Linked DNA regions of Homo sapiens: regions 2 and 3 are each linked to region 1. The links are contacts of gene promoters, found by promoter capture Hi-C in human tissues and cell types (Jung and others, 2019). All regions are on one chromosome and are shown on one strand. The core of a region is centred on a gene start or on the middle of the fragment in contact, and the rest is flanking DNA. Distances in the headings are between cores, read along the strand shown. Region 1 holds the start of UBALD2 (UBA like domain containing 2). Region 2 overlaps SAP30BP (SAP30 binding protein). Region 3 overlaps GRB2 (growth factor receptor bound protein 2).

Region 1 (2,700 bases), core at 182-2,681:
ACTAGGGGGGTAGGGTACAGGAGAGATGTCCTGGGCCTCAAGAAAGCAGAGTACCCCATGGCCAGGAGGGCAAAAGCTTGGGCCTGGGCTAGAATGAAAAAGAAAGCAAATCCAGACCCCGGACCACTTCTCTGTGTGCTGGGCTGGTGGAGCTCAACACAGAGATTAAAGACACATTCCTGGCCTTATCTTGGGTCAAAATCTGTGTGTCCTCCTGGCTTGGGGGATGTATGTCCTTCCAACTTCCCAGTCCCCTTGGGCTTCGGAAGGTTGAACAGATCTTTGTGGGTAGAGCCCGGCTTCCTGAGCCAGGGTGGATTCATGCCTTTCCTGTTCCCTGTAGCGCTGGGTGTGTGTGTGTGTGGAGGGGGAGGGGGGAAACCACTCAACAGCACGAGGGGGTCCCCATAAACACAAGCACCCCCATCGCCCTCCCTGGGCCCTTCGCGCGGGCTTCCCAGTGCCCCAGACGTCCGGGCATCACCCTCTCCCCCTCCCCATCCCCTGGCTCTGGGGTCCCCCAGCTCCTGAGCCCCTCGCCAGGCCCCCGGCCCTCTCCCCCTCCCCCCAACTTTGGCGCCGCTTCCCCCCAGGGACCAGTGCCGGGCACCAGTCCCGAGGCCAAGCAGCAGCAGCCCGGGAGGCGGGCCTCAAAGTTGGAGGCGCCAGCGCCGGCCCGGGAGCCGCTCTTTCCTGGAAGACATTTTGGCTCTTTGTTTACATTCGCGGCGCGGCGCTCCCCGGCAACATGGCTGTCACCGCCGCGCTGACAGCGGCCCCGGCCCGCGCCCCTGCCCGCCGCCGCTTACCATCTGGTGGTGGTGGTGGCTGTTGGGAATGTTGGTTTCTTGGAAGAACGTGCTCAGCGCGGTCTGCGGACAAACAGGGCAGTGACACGGCGGGCCAGGCGGAGTCAGGAAACGCAGCGGCTGGGCCCCCCACCGGCTCTCCCCGCCTCCGCGCCCGGCCCGCGGCCCCCGACCCTCGGCTGCCCCACGTGCAGAGGGGAGCCGGTCCCGGCCCCGGTCCCGCGTAAGACCCGCTCGCGGGCGCCGATCGCCTTCCGGGCCGACAACAGGAGCGCTCCCCGCCCCCGCCGCCGCCCGGCGTCCCCGACCCCCGCGGCCCGGCCCCGCGGCGGCCAGGCTCGCACCTCGAACTGCCAGTGGGCCGCCTGCAGCAACTGCTTCGCCTGGTCGGCCGCGCAGCCCGCGGCCAGCACGAACTGGTTGATCATGACCTGGTGCCGCAGCTCGTCCATGTTCACCGACATGGCGCGGCGCGGCGCGGGGCCCGGCGTCTCCGGCCGGACGCAGACGCGGGGCTGCGCGGGCGCGGGAGGCCGGCCGCCCGGGGCTCCGGGGCTCGCGCTCACCGCTGCTGCCGCCGCTCCGCCGCCCGCTCCGCCGCCGCCCGCCCGGCGAATGTTGTGGTTCGACTCCCGCGGCCCGGCCGACACCACAAACAACAGCGCGGGGCGGGGCTGGGCCGGCCCAACGTTCGGGGACTGCCGCTGATTGGCCGGGGCGCCGCTCCGCCAGCGCCCGGCTCCCGTAAGGACGTTCGATTCGAATCCTGCGGCCTGTGGGGCCCTCACTGTTTCTCTTTTCGCCCGGCCGCGCCCATTGGCGGAGCTCGGCGCCGTGGGGCTCCCCAGCATTGGCCGGCCGCTGTGTTTTGGCTCATCCGGCCTCGTGGTTGGTCACGGCCGGGCGTTCGGGGCGGGGCCGCGCACTCTGATTGGCCTCCGGTGGTCCTGTTTGAACTCAACTTGAAAACCCGGAGTGCCTGCTGATTGGCCGAGGGCCCTCTGTTTGCTGTTGTAGGCTTGGGGGTGGTGCGGCCAAGTTCATTCATTACTTCATTGAAACAGAACATGCTCAGCTGGAAAAGCAAGACAGAGTGGCTTTGACTCATTTCCTCTGAAAGATGTGGTCATCTCGAGAAACAGAATGATCAAAATAGAAAACAGAGCCTTTGCAGCTGCTCAAGTCTCAAAAGCATGTAATTTTTAAAAATAACTTTCAAGCAGTCCAATTTAAAAAAATCTTTTATTGAAATATAACGTACATTAGGAAAGTGCGATGTCGCAGGTACAGCTTCCAGACTTTTCACCAAGTGAACACCCAGATCAATTAACAGAACGTTACTTGCACCCTAGGAACCCGCGTCCTGCCCTCTTCTAATCACTACCCACCGCAAGGATCGAGCAGTATTTTCTCAGTTTTTAGACCAAAGACTTTGCTCTCTGAAGATGGAAGCCAAGATTTATGTACAATAAATACGATATGCAAGGAAATATGCAAGGAAAAAAGTGAGACTTTCTCAGTGGCCAAAATGCCAAGTCAAGAATTTTTTCTTGTTAAATCGGTTGACCTAACTGAAGCTTTAATTTTCTTTTTTTTTTTTTCTCTTGCTTGTCACGAAAGCTAAGATGAAGCTTTAATTTCTACCATCTTTTAAAAAAACAACGGGTGGCAGTAGGGGTGGAGTCTGGGGTTGGGATGGCTTACACCTATAATCCCAGCACTTTGGGAGGCCGAGACAGGAGGATAACTTGAGGCCGGGAGTTCAACACCAGCTTGGGCAACATAGCACAGACTCCATCTCTACCAAATAAAAACAAACAATAACAAACAGTGAGTGTTTCTACAGAGATACTGTTTCTCAGTGGTAGCCCTTTAAAGTCCAAAATTTGGT
Region 2 (2,700 bases), core at 134-2,633, 590 kb after region 1:
TGGTGAAACCCCGTCTCTACTAAAAATACAAAAATTAGCTGGGCGACATGGCATGTGCCTGTAATCCCAGCTACTCGGGAGGCTGAGGCAGGAGAATGGCTTGAATGCGGGAGGCAGAGGTTGCAGTGAGCTGAGATTGCGCCATTGCACTCCAGCTTGGGCAACAAGAGCGAAACTCCTACTCAAAAACAAAACAAAACAAAAAAACAACAAAAAACCAAAGTAGAAAGGAGAATGCCACCTAGTGGAGATGACAATTATGACAGTAATCTAATTGTTAAACAACACTTCTAACAAAGATCCACACTTGTAACATATTCTATTGTTAGAAACTTCCTATGTTCATGTGCACTGGGCCTGGTGGCTCACAGCTCTAATCCCAGCCCTTTGGGAAGCCAATGTGGGCAGATTACTTGAGCCCAGGAGTTCAAGACCAGCCGGGGCAATATGGCAAAACCTTTCCTCTACAAAAAAATTAAAAAAAATTGCTAGGTGTGATGCACACACCTGTAGTCCCAGCTGTTTGGGAGGCTGAGGTGGGAGGATTAATTGAGCCAGGGAGGTTGTGGCTGCAGTAAGTTATGATGGCACCACTGCACTCCAGGCGACAGAGGAGACTCCACCTCAAAAAAAAAAAAAAAAAAAAAAAAAAAACAAAAAACAAACAAAAAAACTTCATATGCTTAAAGCAGAATGTCCAAAATTAAGGGTTTTGAATATAAAAAATATTGTTACACATCAATTTAAAAAAATGTGGGCTGGGCACAGTGGCTTATGCCTGTAATCCCAGCACTTTGGGAGGCAGAGGCGGGCCTATCACTTGAGGCCATGAGTTCAAGACCAGCCTGGCCAACATGGTGAAACCCTGTCTCTATTAAAAATACAAAAAATTAGCTGGGCATGGTGGCTCACACCTGTAATCCCAGCTACTCGGGAAACTGAGACAGGAGAATCGCTTGAACCCAGGAGGCGGAGGTTGCACTGAGCCGAGATCACAGCACTGCACTCCAGCCTGAGCGACAGAGCAAGACTCTGTCTCAAAAAAATAAATAAAATAAATAAATAAAAATAAAATGTAAATGTGCCAGAAAGTTCTGGATTTGAGGTACATGTTGCTATGTGGAAGAGAGTCTGAGGCCAGCTCAAGCAGAAGGATGACAGGGCCAGGACTAAGATAAGAGTATCACAGAAGACTCATGCTGGGGATCATTTGTAGTCCTTGGAGATGCCACGAGGACTCCTAAAGGCCTGGCAGCCACTGGGGATTGCAGAACATTGAAGCTGGCAAGCTTTATCTAAACCCTTCTCCATCACCCTCCAAAAGAACTATATCAAGTGACTTTGAGGGTTGGATTTTGTGTTCTGATTTCTGAGGGCTCCTCAAGAGGAACAGAAATTATTCCATGAAAACTTTTCATTCCACAGTAAAACTTGAAATGCACATGAGTGAATGAGGAACAGCGAAGCACATCAGTCAAGGAGCAGGCAGGAATGACGAGGCTGTCAGCCGTGATGTAGGGCTGAGAAGGGGAGCCTGAGCACAAAAGGCATTTCCACAATCTTCCCAGCTTCACCTTTTTTGGGTCCCTCCCACCCCGCTCTTTAGTGACTGCTACTGGACAGCAGTAAAGTCTGTTTTGTTTTTCATGTGACCCCCACCCTGACTCACAAAGCCCTGTCATCTCCCAAGGATTTGTTGCCTGGATTACAGTATTTTAGAAGGGGTGACCGTTAAGTGTTATGTACCCTCCTCTCCAGCCAACTTCCCCAGGAAGCCTTCCAGCCCTAAGAAAAGGCTGCAACTGTACCCAGAAAGACTCTAGGACCCAGATCCTCCCTTCCCTCCACAACTGAAACCCAAACACTTAACGGCTCCCTGGGCTTGTTTTACGTGCAGGCTCCAAGTCCCACATACCCTAAATACTAGGCAGAGAAGATTATCACTACTGAGTGTTTTGTTCTGCAAGCCCGAGGAGAGCTGTGACTGACTTTGAACTATGGGGCCATGGGTCTGCCCATACCATCTTGCCAGTTCTCAGGCAGGGCGAGTTCTCAGGCCTGGGTTCCAGGTTTTTCACTCAGCATAGAAAGCAGGTTGCATTTACAGTTTTCAGGGGTTCTTTTTTTTCCCTCCTGCATGCTGGCGCCAAAACTTTCTTTCCTGGTAAAACACACTCTTATCTTTCTCACTCACAACGTCTCAAGATTTTAGTGGCTACATACAGTTCTATCCAATCACAGAATCAGCTCAAATATGGAACAGCTCACACTATATTTTCAAGAATATTACTGTTTTAGATTTTAATTGGGCATAAATTTCCTAAATTTTACTAGGTCATCTTGAAAGTTACAGCTGGTTTCCAAGCAGTTTTTTTTTGTTTTTTTTTTTGAGACAGATTCTCATTCTGTTGCCCAGGTTGGAGTGCATTGGCAGATCATGGCTCACTGCAACCTCTGCCTCCCAGGTTCAAGTAATTCCCCTGCCTCAGCTTCCCCAGTAGCTGGGATCACAGGTGTGCACCACCCACCAGTCTCACCAGTTAATTTTTGTATTTTTAGTAGAGACGGGGTTTCACCATACTGGCCAGGCTGGTCTTGAACTCCTGACCTCAAGTGATCCTCCCGCCTCAGCCTCCCAAAGTGCTGGGATTACAGGCGTGAGCTACTGCGGCTGGCCTCAAAGCAGTTTTTAACTGCAAA
Region 3 (2,700 bases), core at 26-2,525, 920 kb after region 1:
ATGTCCTTAATGCATTCCAAAAGACATATACAACTGATTTTAGGCTAATTTCAGTCTGAGTCCTGGTAGAGAACACCTGACACACTTAAATTGAGAGGATTTTAATAATGAGACTATTTGCAAGGTGTTGACTCCAGCTGGGGACCTCCACACTCAGCCCACTCAGGCTAAGTCTTGGTTGCGCACCAGCTCAGCTCATGGCTGGGCTGGGTATGCCCCAGCTCACCTGTGTTATGGCTTGTTCCCAGGTTCAGCAGTTCCCAAGGTCTTGTCCTGTGTCTGAGAAGAATGAGGTTACACTGGCAATTTAAGGGTGAGGAGGGTGGAGAAGAATTTTATTGAGCGGTGAACAGCTTTCAGGAGCGGAGGAGGTAGTGGTTCCCCACCCCTGAAGTCTGGTGGTTTCTCTCCCAGTGTGGCTGGGTGGGGGCTTTTATGGGCTCAGAACAGGGGCATGCATGCTGAATGGTTTGTGGGCATGCAAAGAAAGGCTAAAGCAAAGGCACCACTCAAAGATGGGCATGGCAGTGTAGAAAATCAATTCGGAAAGGGTAGGTAGATGTAAAATAGGTGAAGAGTGGGGATCAATCAGAGGAAAGCCTACCAAATGGGAAGATGGGTTCTCAGTCCGGTCCATGGATTTGACCTGTAGTGTGGCTTTCAGGCTTTCAGTTGTCTTTGGCTTAGAGGTGGGGTTTCACTGGAGACCCGCCCCTGTGAGGCATTTGTCTGCCTCCTGCCGCTATCAGTGTGGGCGAAGTTTCTCTAGAAACCACAGGGATAATGCAGTGTCCACAGCTGGTAATCAGGTTACCACCATGAGGCCTACGACAGGGAGAAGGAAGGGGGAGGAGTTGCCCAAACCTGGAGAAGGAAAGGACTTACTTTCAATTGAGAGTCCAAGACTGTCCACAGACACTCTCAGGGTGGGAGCTGGGAGAATGAATGCCCTGACCTGACCCTCCCTTCGTCTGACCTTCTGCAGGCCTCCCCATTGATTAATAGCACTGGGAGCCAGAGAGTGAGGGAGCCTGTTGATGTGGTTCTTACAGAGCCAAAAAGTCAGAGCAGGCTGGGCACAGTGGCTCATGCCTGTAATCCCAGCACTTTGAGAGGCCAAGGTGACTTGAGGTTAGGAGTTTGAGACTAGCCTGGCCAACATGATGAAACCCCGTCTCTACTAAAAAATACAAAAATTAGCCAGGTGTGGTAATCCCAGCTGCTTGGGAGGCTGAGGCAGGGGAATCATTTGAACCCGGGCGGTGGAGGTTGCAGTGAGCCAGGATTGCACCACTGCACTCCTGCCTGTGCAAAGAGTGTGACTCTGTCTCAAAAAAAAAAAAAAAAAAAAAAAGGCAAGAAAAGCAAGGTGTAACTGGATCTGGAGAGACAGATGGAGGATACCAGCATAAGATTGATACCTGTCTTTGTTTTTTGGAGACGGAGTCTCACTCTATTGCCCAGGCTGGAATGCAGTGGCGCAGTCTCGGCTCCCTGCAACTTCTGCCTCCCAGGTTCAAGCGATTCTCCTGCCTCAGCCCCCCGAGTAGCTGGGACTACAGGCGCCCGCCACCGTGCCCAGATAATTTTTTGTATTTTGTAGTAGAGACAGGGTTTTACCATGTTGGCCAGGCGGGTCTTGAACTCCTGACCTCAAGTGATCCGCCTGCCTTGGCATCCCAAAGTGCTGGGATTACAGGCATCAGCCACTGTGCCCAGCCAATATAGCAGTTTTTCTAAAGCAGTTTTCAGAAAAAAAAAAAAAAAAAATCAGTGGCCGAGAGGAAGACCACTGAGCAGCATCTCATCACCAAGTCCTTTTGATTCTACCTCCAGAAATACCTCGACTCTCTCCTCTCTACCGCACTGCCCCACCCACCTGCACCTCCTTGCAGTTCATCTCACAGTCAGCCAGAGGAGCTTTTGAAAAATGCAAACCTGAATGTCACTCTCAGCGACTTCTGATGATTGTAACATATAAGCTTGAGCTTCTTAATTTGCATACTGTGGTCTTCTGCCAGACCACCCACAGGAGAGCCTTTGATCTCCCTTCAAATGTCACTGGCTTGGGGAGGCTTTCTCAGGCAGCCCCCACCCCGAGACTAGTTTAGGTCCCTGTGTTTTCTGCTCCCTGACCCTGTCCACTAGCTTGAATCCACATTTGCAGTTTGTATTGTCATTACCTGTTGAACTCTCTGCATTCGCCTCCACCCTGGGGGTGGGGGTGGGGGTGGGGGTAGGGACTTGCCACTCTACCCCAGTTCCTCTTCCTCTGTCATGTGATTATAACAAGCCTTTCCCGATTTGGAACTAGATTAACTGCTTCAGAAGTAGAAAATGCATTTGGAACTAGCTTTTTGAGTTGGAAATTAACGGTGTCCTGGTGGGAGGACCCCAGCCTTGAGTTTTTCAGTCCTGTATCCTTATGCACACGTTGGTGAATAGTTCTGTGACCAACATTGCTTTTTCTTCTTTCAATAACATCCTCTGAGGTGGCTCTTGGGTCACAGAACGACTGAAAATCGATCAGTCCTTTCATTGACCCCTTGAATCATAGTCTTACGTGGAATTAAATAAACTCTGTTGTCGGGCGGGGTGCGGTGGTTCACGCCTGTAATCCCACAACTTTGGGAGGCTGAGGTTGGCGGATCACGAGGTCAGGAGATCGAGACCATCCTGGCTAACACGGTGAAACCCCGT

What was found. The method cuts DNA at HindIII sites, captures the fragments that hold promoters and counts their contacts. A contact is called where the count stands out against the background at its distance.
Region 2: a contact is called between a fragment that was not itself captured here and the fragment with the promoter of UBALD2 in region 1, in 1 of the 25 tissues and cell types used here (dorsolateral prefrontal cortex).
Region 3: a fragment that was not itself captured here is called in contact with the fragment with the promoter of UBALD2 in region 1 in 1 of the 25 tissues and cell types used here (pancreas).

What each region holds. Positions count from the first base shown.
Region 1 is chr17:76,264,079-76,266,778 of GRCh38, reverse strand. It overlaps UBALD2 (UBA like domain containing 2), which reads right to left and starts at 1,431. Exons shown (of 3, transcript NM_182565.4): 1 at 1,154-1,431; 2 at 810-872. The coding sequence starts at 1,273. It overlaps LOC105371896 (a long non-coding RNA gene), which reads left to right and starts at 1,698. Exons shown (of 6, transcript XR_007065913.1): 1 at 1,698-2,700. RefSeq lists enhancers at 619-718, 1,979-2,028 and silencers at 889-1,028, 1,329-1,628. The HindIII fragment of the contact is 4,971 bases long and covers 1-2,700 here.
Region 2 is chr17:75,672,652-75,675,351 of GRCh38, reverse strand. All of the region lies in intron 3 of SAP30BP (SAP30 binding protein), which reads right to left. Among named protein-coding and RNA genes, the nearest start is that of SAP30BP, 6.7 kb to the right of the region's middle. The HindIII fragment of the contact is 5,826 bases long and covers 1-2,700 here.
Region 3 is chr17:75,345,233-75,347,932 of GRCh38, reverse strand. All of the region lies in intron 2 of GRB2 (growth factor receptor bound protein 2), which reads left to right. Among named protein-coding and RNA genes, the nearest start is that of SLC25A19, 57 kb to the right of the region's middle. RefSeq lists enhancers at 482-561, 572-631, 2,242-2,521, 1,896-2,700 and silencers at 772-831, 743-911. The HindIII fragment of the contact is 8,077 bases long and covers 1-2,700 here.